Regions from separate parts of the Homo sapiens genome. Here region 2 is linked to region 1. The links are contacts of gene promoters, found by promoter capture Hi-C in human tissues and cell types (Jung and others, 2019). All regions are on one chromosome and are shown on one strand. The core of a region is centred on a gene start or on the middle of the fragment in contact, and the rest is flanking DNA. Distances in the headings are between cores, read along the strand shown.

Region 1 (4,299 bases), core at 111-2,610:
TGCCAAAAAGACCTTGTCTTTTGACTTCATCTGGAATATTATTGACTTCATTCAGAATATTCCCATTACAAGAAAGTGGCCAGTCTCTCCGAGGAACAAACTGTTTTCCTTTTCCACCATGAAATAGATCTTATCTTTTCATTAGTTAATATAGGTGTACCTTCAAATGGCAATAACATTGTTCTGCTTTGTGGCTTCTCAAGTAGTAAACCCAGAAAACATCAGCTACCGTGGATTTTATTATAAATCATTGACATTCCTTTGGTGATTCACAAATGCCAAAAAATAAATGTCATGTTCCCCAGGGTTTGAAGAAAGACACTGTAGCTTTTGGATTCAGCAACGGATCTTTCAAGAAAACAGTATGGAGGGATGACTCACTCCCCCCATGGAGGCTGCCCTCTAGTTCGTCCTTTAGAGGAAGCATGACCAAGGGTCTGCTGGTACTTTTCTCTCCCTCTCTAAGAATTTCCTCAGGAGAGGAAAAAGTTAGCTTTCTTTTCTCTGCTCCTGAGTGCCATGGCCTGCAGTACGTGACCAGTCCTTGGCACAGAGTCACTCAGGGCTCATGGTAGATGCTTAGCGGTCACAGCCAGTAGCTGCGCAGTGTGGCAGCAGCTGAGATCCATACTGCAGCCTGAAAGTTGTGTTTCAGCTTCTGAGGTTACAAGTGTATCCAGTGTTTACATCAGAGATAAAGCCCCCTTTCCCCTCTCTCCTACGGGAGCCCTCAACAAGACAGATACACGGGTTGGGTGGAGTGAGACCACATCCAGCAGAGGCAAAGCTTGCTAAAAGAGAGAGGAGGAGGAGGGGGAGAGGGAGGAGGCGGCACGGCGTCCCTTGGCAGCTCCGTGCATGCTGCGGCAGTTGCAACAGGAGAACCGAGTACCAGTTGCTCAACACTTTATCACTTTGCATTGCTCTTTCTCCTCCCTTAAGTGAATTTCCATTTTGAGGGTACAGCTCCACAGGAGAAAGGTGTGGTGGTGGTAGTGGTGGAGGGTGTCTGTGGGGGGGATGGTGGTGCGACGGGAGTTGGAATGTCCAGTGTGGGGAAGCAAAGGAGTGCCTACTAGGATGCGAATACCACTTGGCCCTGGGCTCGCTCCGCTTTAGCCTTCCCCTCTCGCTGGGGAGAAACAGGCGGTTTGTGAGGGAGACTGAGAGAGGGGCGTGTTTGTGGTGGTGGCGGCCCATCGGGGGTCCTTGTCCTCTCCGAATACCCGGACTGCTGAGGGGAAGGGCCGGGGGGGCCCCGGCGGTTGCCATGGTGACGCAGGGTCGGCGGCTCAGCGCCGTAGAGACAAAGCCGCCCGCCCGCCAGCCCGCTAGCTCCTCGCGCGAGCTCCTCCTCCACGGGAACCTCCCTCCCCTCCCAGGCGCCGCCGCAGCCGGAGCGGCTCCCGGGCCCTGGGCCGCCGCCGGCCAGGTAAGGCGATCGCGCCCGCGGCCGGGGAGGGGTCGGCGGGACGCCGGGCCTCCCCAACGCTGGGGCAGCAGCCAGCCCCGCAGTCCTGGACGGCGCCGGGCCGCCCAAGCGCGCCGAGGAGAGGGGGCGGCAAACTTCGGGCCGAGCGGCGCCGGGGCCCGCGCGCGGAGTCTCCCTCCGGGCACCACGGGGGCCGCCGTCCTGGCACCAACTTGAGGGGCTGTGCGGCGGAGGGCGGCTGCGGAGCGCCCGCGCGGGCTGCACCTGCTCAGGGAGCTGCCCCTCTGTTGTTGTTGTTATTTTCCTTCTTGGCGTGCCATCGAGGCTTTTGGGGGAAAAAAAGGTATGAAAGTATTTACCTTTGGACTTTCATGTTTCATGGCATTCTCTTTGAGGAGGGGTTGGGAGGGTAGTAAGAGGGACAAGCGAAAGATTTTTACGAATCTCTGAAAAGTGAGCCCATTTTTATGCCTGTGGCTGAAGCATTTTGAGGAGGCTTCTGAAGTTCGTTTGGATATTGAATCGAAAGACCTTTTTTTCTTTGGAAGGTGCAGTTGCACCTATAACTGGATGGTAAGGGTAGCCCGGCTTTCCCCGACTAGCAAGACCAGAATGTAGAGCAGTACCGATACTTTGTCAAGGAGATACTTGGCACCGAGGTCATTGCTTTTGTTTCTAGAAGGTATTGTGTTCATGCTGTAAGGAACTGGAAAGTGCCTTTTGTTTTTATGTGTAGGGAGGCAATCCAAAGCACCTCTGGAGGCAGGTAGCTGGGCGGTGTTTGCATCGGTGTTTATGAGTGGGATGATGAGGACCACGATGCGGTTGCCACTGGGGCACTGGATAGGTTATAGGTACCTTTCTCAGTGGCCCCAACCCTTGCAATCATTTCGTGATAGTTTGTTGCAGACGCGAAGCACAGATTTAAATTGTGACTGTGAAGACTTTTTTTTTTGGTACTTAGACATCATCTTACATGTAGTAATATGAAAGAAAACAGATACATTTTCAGAAATACAGTTGATCAATTCAGAAGGAAATTGTATATATGTTAATAAGATTTGTTTTAAATCATATTTAAACAATATGAGATGTCATATTGATAACTGGAAAATAATCTAACATATAAAATTGTATATCCAACTTAGTAAAATAATGTATAAGTTGGAATAGGTCATTTAAAGAACTATATGGAATGCAAGAAATTATATTTTTGCTAGAGAGTAATTAATGAAAACAGTACCACTGATCATTTTGAATTGCAGTTAAGTTGATTGGAATTCTGCATATTACAGCTACTTGAGGTGTCAGGCAAAGAGTGATTATTTAATATTCCTCTTCCCTCTTTTGGGATTTCAACACCTGTTAGCCTGCTGATTACTAGGTTTCTCAGTCTGTTCATATTTGCCAGCAACTTCAAGTAATGCCACTTCATTAGAAGATTGTATTGGAAACTAAAGGATTGAAGTTGCAATTAACAGTTTGCAGGTTATTTCACAATTGGGCTTGTTTTTAAACTGAATTTTACCTGTGGAAGATTCACAGATGCTCTGCTAAATACTCTTTCATGACGGTAATAAAATCGTACATTGATTAAAACGAAGTAGATCTGTTTTGAGAAGATAAACGGGAGAGAAAAGTATTTTCTCACTTAAGCATGAACAGCAAATAGGATATTGAAGCCTAGGCACATTATATAGACAGAGAATGTAGTTTTATGTTTTGTACTAAAAATAAATTATTTTGTGTGTTTGTGTGTGTGTGTGTGTTTTTTTTTTTTTCCTGAGGGACCAACAGAACAGCTTTATTCAGATCTTTGTTAGCAAAACCAGTATTCAAGTTCAAGGACTTGGTCCGTGCTTTCTGCCAGATGAAACCCACACTGTGAGTTCTAGCCTAAACATTTATGTTGTGGCCCTTAATCTGAGTGCTGAAGAACGGAGATATCCATGGTGAATTTAGCACAGTAAGGACCGGTGCTTTGCCTTTGCTGCTAGCTCACACGGGCACAACATTCAATATAGTTTGGCTTCTTCAGAGCTGCATCATTTTCTGCCAAAAAATAAAGTCGGTATACAGAAATCAACAATCATGTATTGCATGCACTGCTTGGTTGTAGTGGCTTATTAATAAGAGCTCCGAAGCATGAAATGAAGCTTGTGTCAGTGCAGTGGAAAACAATAATCTGGCATGTTTATATGTGTTACTAGTGTTCTGAGGTATGTGCATAACCAGATAATGAAAGAAAAAATACTATGATATCTGCAATATGTCCTTAGAAAATGCAAACAGCAATTGTGTTTTCTGTCCATGGTTTAGCCACCTGGTGGAAGCAGGCAACAGCATTGCATATCCCCAGGTGTAAAATACTAGTCATCACTCTTGCTGATTCACGGGAGTAGGAGTCTTTTCCTGCATTTTAGCTTACGGGTTTTAATTTTATGACGTAAAATTGGTCCTAATTTTTGGTATAAGCTGTAAAATATGGCCTGATAATTGTCACCATAGCTGTATTCTACCTGAAAGAATTCTGTAATTCAGTTTATGAAGCATATCCAAAGACAAAAAAAAGCCACAAATGTTCCTGTTTAAGTTAGGATTAACATTATGTTTGTGCCATTGAAAGTCAGTTGTTTGTAACCATATAAGCCTGCATAGGCAGCCTAAATAAAGCCACTGAAGCCTTTATTGACTGTTTCTGGGTCAACATTCTCTTGCAATTTCTAGTTGCACTGTGATAACATGATTACTGGTTGGTAATTTAGCATCTAGTGCAATGTGTTGTAGCATTTATAAAAGCACATTTGTGAAGGATGGTAGTTTTTAAATGATTTCTTCATTACCAAAACACTTAGATTTAGATTTGT
Region 2 (4,419 bases), core at 358-2,857, 1.3 Mb after region 1:
AATATGCACAGATCTTGCTCCACGCCACTAGTGCCCTTTGTTTCGCCTTCCTCTCACTTTCTCCATTGTTCTGGAGACTTAAACGTCACTGTTAAATTTGAAAGTCCTACTCAAGTCCTGCCCTTTGTAGGAAGCTTTCTCAACCTGCTGGATCTCTCACTGCCTCTTTTCTGAATTGTATGGGATTTCTTTCTTTCTTTTGTTTTTTCCCAGTCTCGCTCTGTTGCCCAGGCTGGAATACAGTGGTGCGATCTTGGCTCACTGCAAGCTCCGCCTCCCGGGTTCACGCCATTCTCCTGCCTCAGCCTCCCAGTCCAGTAGCTGGGATTACAGGCACCCGCCACCATGCCCGGCTATGAATTCTATGATATTTCTTAATCTAATCTAAAATGTTTATTTGTACATAATCATAGGCCACCTTATGCTGTTATTTAATTTCTCTTGAGGATATAATTTTGTTCCTTATAGGCAAGGGTCATTTTTTACATGACTTTTTACTCCCTTCAATATCAAGATCAGGCATCAGACACAGGGGTTGGGCGCCGTGGCTCAGGCTTGTAATCCCAACACTTTGGGAAGACTAAGCGGATGGCTTGAGCCCAGGACTTTGAGACCAGCCTGGGCAACATGGTGAAACCCCATTTCTCTCTCTTTTTTTTGTTTTTTAAAGAGAGATCAGATACATAACAGGTCCTTAATATATCTACAACAAATTAGGGGAAAATATGAAATTTTGGGACAGCAAGAAACATATTAACATTTAACGTCAGCAAACTATCAGGAGTTGGGAATGAAGTAGAACCCAAAGTCGAACCCTCTTGGGGTTTGTAGTCTAATGAAGGGAGGTAATTAGACAATCACACATAAATACCCTTTAACACCAGTGACTGAAGAAAAACACTATAGGCTGGGCGTGGTAGCTCACGCCTGTAATCACAGCACTTTGGGAGGCAGAGGAAGGTGGATCACGAGGTCAGGAGATCGAGACCATCCTGGCCTATATGGTGAAACCCCGTCTCTACTAAAAATACAAAAATTAGCTGGGCATGGTGGTGCGCACCTGTAGTCCCAGCTACTCAGGAGGCTGAGGCAGGAGAATCGCTTGAACCTGGGAGGTGGAGGTTGCAGTGAGCTGAGATCACGCCACTGCACTCCAGCCTGGCAATGGAGTGGGATTCTGAAAAAAAACAAAACAACAACAAAAACCACTATAGTTGAAGAGAGTGTTATCTATAACGAAATTTACTAGGTAGTTTGGGAAATTAAAATCTTATAAAGGAGCTGCCAGTCAGGTGCAGTGGCTCGAGCCTGTAATCCTAGTACTTTGGGAGGCCGAGGAGGATGGTTCACCTGAGGTCAGGAATTCAAGACCAGCCTGGCCAACATGGTGAAACCCCGTCTCTACTAAAATATAAAAATTAGCCAGACATGATGGCGGTTGCCTATAATTCCAGCTACTTGGGAGGCTGAGACAGGAGAATCACTTGAACCTGGGAGACAGTGGTTGCAGTGAGCCGAGATTGAGCCACTGCACTCCAGCCTGGGCAGCTGAGCAAGACTCCATAAAAAAAAAAAAAAAAAAAAGGAGCTGCTAGGCCAGAATCGGTTTGCAGCTTCCTTGCTGGTTCCTTCCACATCACTCCTGCAAGGAACAGGGAACTAAAACATCTACATAAACCTGAATTCTCAAACCTGAATGAACCTCACAGTTCCCTAGCCAGCTTGTTAAAACACACATTGCTGGGTGCCCCCCCACCCGCCGCCCCAGTTTCTCATTCAGAAGGGCTGGGTAATTTGCATTTACAACAAATAATAAGAGACCCTGATACCCCTGGTCTGGGGAAGAAACCCTGAGAATTTATGGGCTGGACCTTCTTGGAAACTTATCATGGGCACTGATGTACAATTTCTGTATGTCTTTTTTTTCCATGTGCATATCTGGTTTTTTTGTTTTTTTGTTTTTTTGTTTTTTTTTTTTTTTTTTTGAGACAGAGTCTCACTCTGTCGCCCAGGCTGGAGTGCAGTGGTATGATATCAGCTCACTGCAACTTCCACCTCCTGGGTTCAAGCCATTCTCCTGCCTCAGCCTCCTGAGTAGCTAGGACTACAGGTGCATGCCACCACGCCCAGCTAATTTTTTGTATTTTCTTATAGATGGGGTTTCACTGTGTTGCCCAGGCTGGTCTGGAACTCCTGAGCTCAGGCAATCCACCTGCCCCAGCCTCCCAAAGTGCTGGGATTACACACGTGAGCCACCACACCTGGCCCTTTTTTTTTTTCATGTAGACTGCAGTCTCCCACAGGGCAGGCAGTATTTTATTGAGGATATACTTTTGTTCCTTATAGGCAAGGGCCATTTTTTACATGACTTTTTACTCCCTTCAATGTCAAGATCAGACATCACACACAGGGGCTGGGCGCCGTGGCTCATGTCTGTAATCCCAACACTTTGGGAGGACTAAGCAGATGGCTTGAGTCTTTTTTTTTTTTTTTTTTTGAGACAGAGTCTAGCTGTGGCCCAGGCTGGAGTGCAGTGGTGCGATCTTGGCTCACTGCAACCTCTGCCTCCCAGGTTCAAGCGATTCTTCTGCCTCAGCCTCCTGAGTAGCTGGGATTACAGGCGCGCAACACCATGCCCAGCTAATTTTTGTATTTCAGTAGAGACAGGGTTTCACCATGTTGGCCAGGCCAGTCTCGAACTCCTGACCTCAAATGATCCATCCACCTTGGCCTCCCAAATTGCTAGGATTACAGGTGTGAGCCACCAAGCCCAGCCTTTTTTTTTTTTTTTTGAGTTGGAGTTTTTGCTCAGGCTGGAGTGCAATGGCAGGATCTTGGCTCACTGTAACCTCTGCCTCCCGGATTCAAGCTATTTTCCTGCCTGAGACTCCCAAGTAGCTGGGATTACAGGAATGTGCCACCATGCCTGGCTGATTTTGTATTTTTAGTAGAGACAGGGTTTTACCATGTTGGCCACGCTGGTCTCGAACTCCTGACCTCAGGTGATCCACCTTGCTTGGCCTCCCAAAGTGCTGGGATTACAGGTGTGAGCCCCTGTGCCCGGCTGAATTCAATATATTTTTGAAAGCTAGAGAAGAAAGCAAATTGAGTCCTTAATGGCAAAAATAAGGGAAAAAAATTTGCATTCTTTCAAGTCGTGGCCAAATTAATGGAAATAAGTAGTACCGGTATTCATAGTAGGACCTTCTGAGTAAGCCAATTCTCCTCCATAGGACTGAATTATTCTCAAATTAAAATAATCATCCATGAGGTCTACATTTCATGACTTAGTCCATCCATGCATACAACCCAATTCCTACCACAATCTGAATCAGTTTAAACATGATTGAACGTCACTATGCAGGATTTATCATATTTGCGACAGGAAAAACATTCGGTTTGGCAGGAAACAAATGATATTACAGGGCCCAAAGGTGAGTAATTGGCCCTAATGACTTGGAAATAAATTTGAATTCGCATTGGGTAGGCTGTATAAATATATACTGTATAACTGAATGCCTGGTGCTTTGGGGGGACAAGCGGGGTGGGAGTGGGGGGCGAGGGGAGGGGAGAGCATTGTTGTCAGCCTCTCCCTTGCAGCTGGTGCCATTCCTACTTTCTTCTCCTCCCCAAGCTGAATGACAGTAGGTTAAAGGAACTGTTGAAGCACAGACAATGAGCAAAGAAAGTGGCAATTCACAGCCTATTAACCTTGGATTTTGGAAGTTGTGCCACCCCCCCACCCCGACTCTCCACTACAGCTGGCTTTAAAATCACAGCTTTTAAGGATTCGCCTCCAGGTCTAAGGTGGGAGTTACGCTTTTGGTTAAGAGTGACCAAGAATTGAAAGAATTTCCTGGGAGTCCTGGAAAGGTAACTCAGGTGGAGAAAGTCTTCTTGGTGGATCAGAGATCAGATGCAGGGGCTGGGTGTGGTGGCTCATGTCTGTAAACTCACCACTTTGGATCAGAGTCCGAATGCATGGCAGGGACGGCACTTGGTAACTGTAATTTATGTGCCTTTGCTTCCAAGTGTTCAGAGAAATGGGTATGAAGACAGCAGCCTTATTTCAGAGGACATTGATTGATTCAGTCATTCTGAAAATATTTATTGAGAGCTTGTTCTGCCCTTCATTGGATGCACAGCCAAGAATGGAACAAAGAGGCCGGCACAGTGGCGCCTGTAATCTGAGCACCCTGGGAGGCCGAGGCAGGTGGATCACCTGAGGTCAGGAGTTTGAGACCAGCCTGGCCAACCTGGTGAAACCATTTCTACTAAAAGTATGAAAATTAGCCAGGTGTGGGAGTATGCACCTGTAATCCCAGCTACTCGGGAGGCCGAGGCAAAATAAACTCTTGAACCTGGGAGGCGGAGGTTGCAGTGAGCCCAGATCGCGCCACTGCATTCCAGCCTGGGCGA

Evidence for each region. Contacts are between HindIII fragments. The study calls those that stand out against the background at their distance.
Region 2: a contact is called between a fragment that was not itself captured here and the fragment with the promoter of RNF182 in region 1, in 1 of the 25 tissues and cell types used here (lymphoblastoid cells).

Annotation. Positions count from the first base shown.
Region 1 is chr6:13,923,592-13,927,890 of GRCh38, forward strand. It overlaps RNF182 (ring finger protein 182), which reads left to right and starts at 1,361. Exons shown (of 3, transcript NM_152737.4): 1 at 1,361-1,432. RefSeq lists an enhancer at 256-756. The HindIII fragment of the contact is 4,770 bases long and covers 117-4,299 here.
Region 2 is chr6:15,224,076-15,228,494 of GRCh38, forward strand. No RefSeq gene overlaps it. Among named protein-coding and RNA genes, the nearest start is that of JARID2-DT, 19 kb to the right of the region's middle. The HindIII fragment of the contact is 9,363 bases long and covers 1-4,419 here.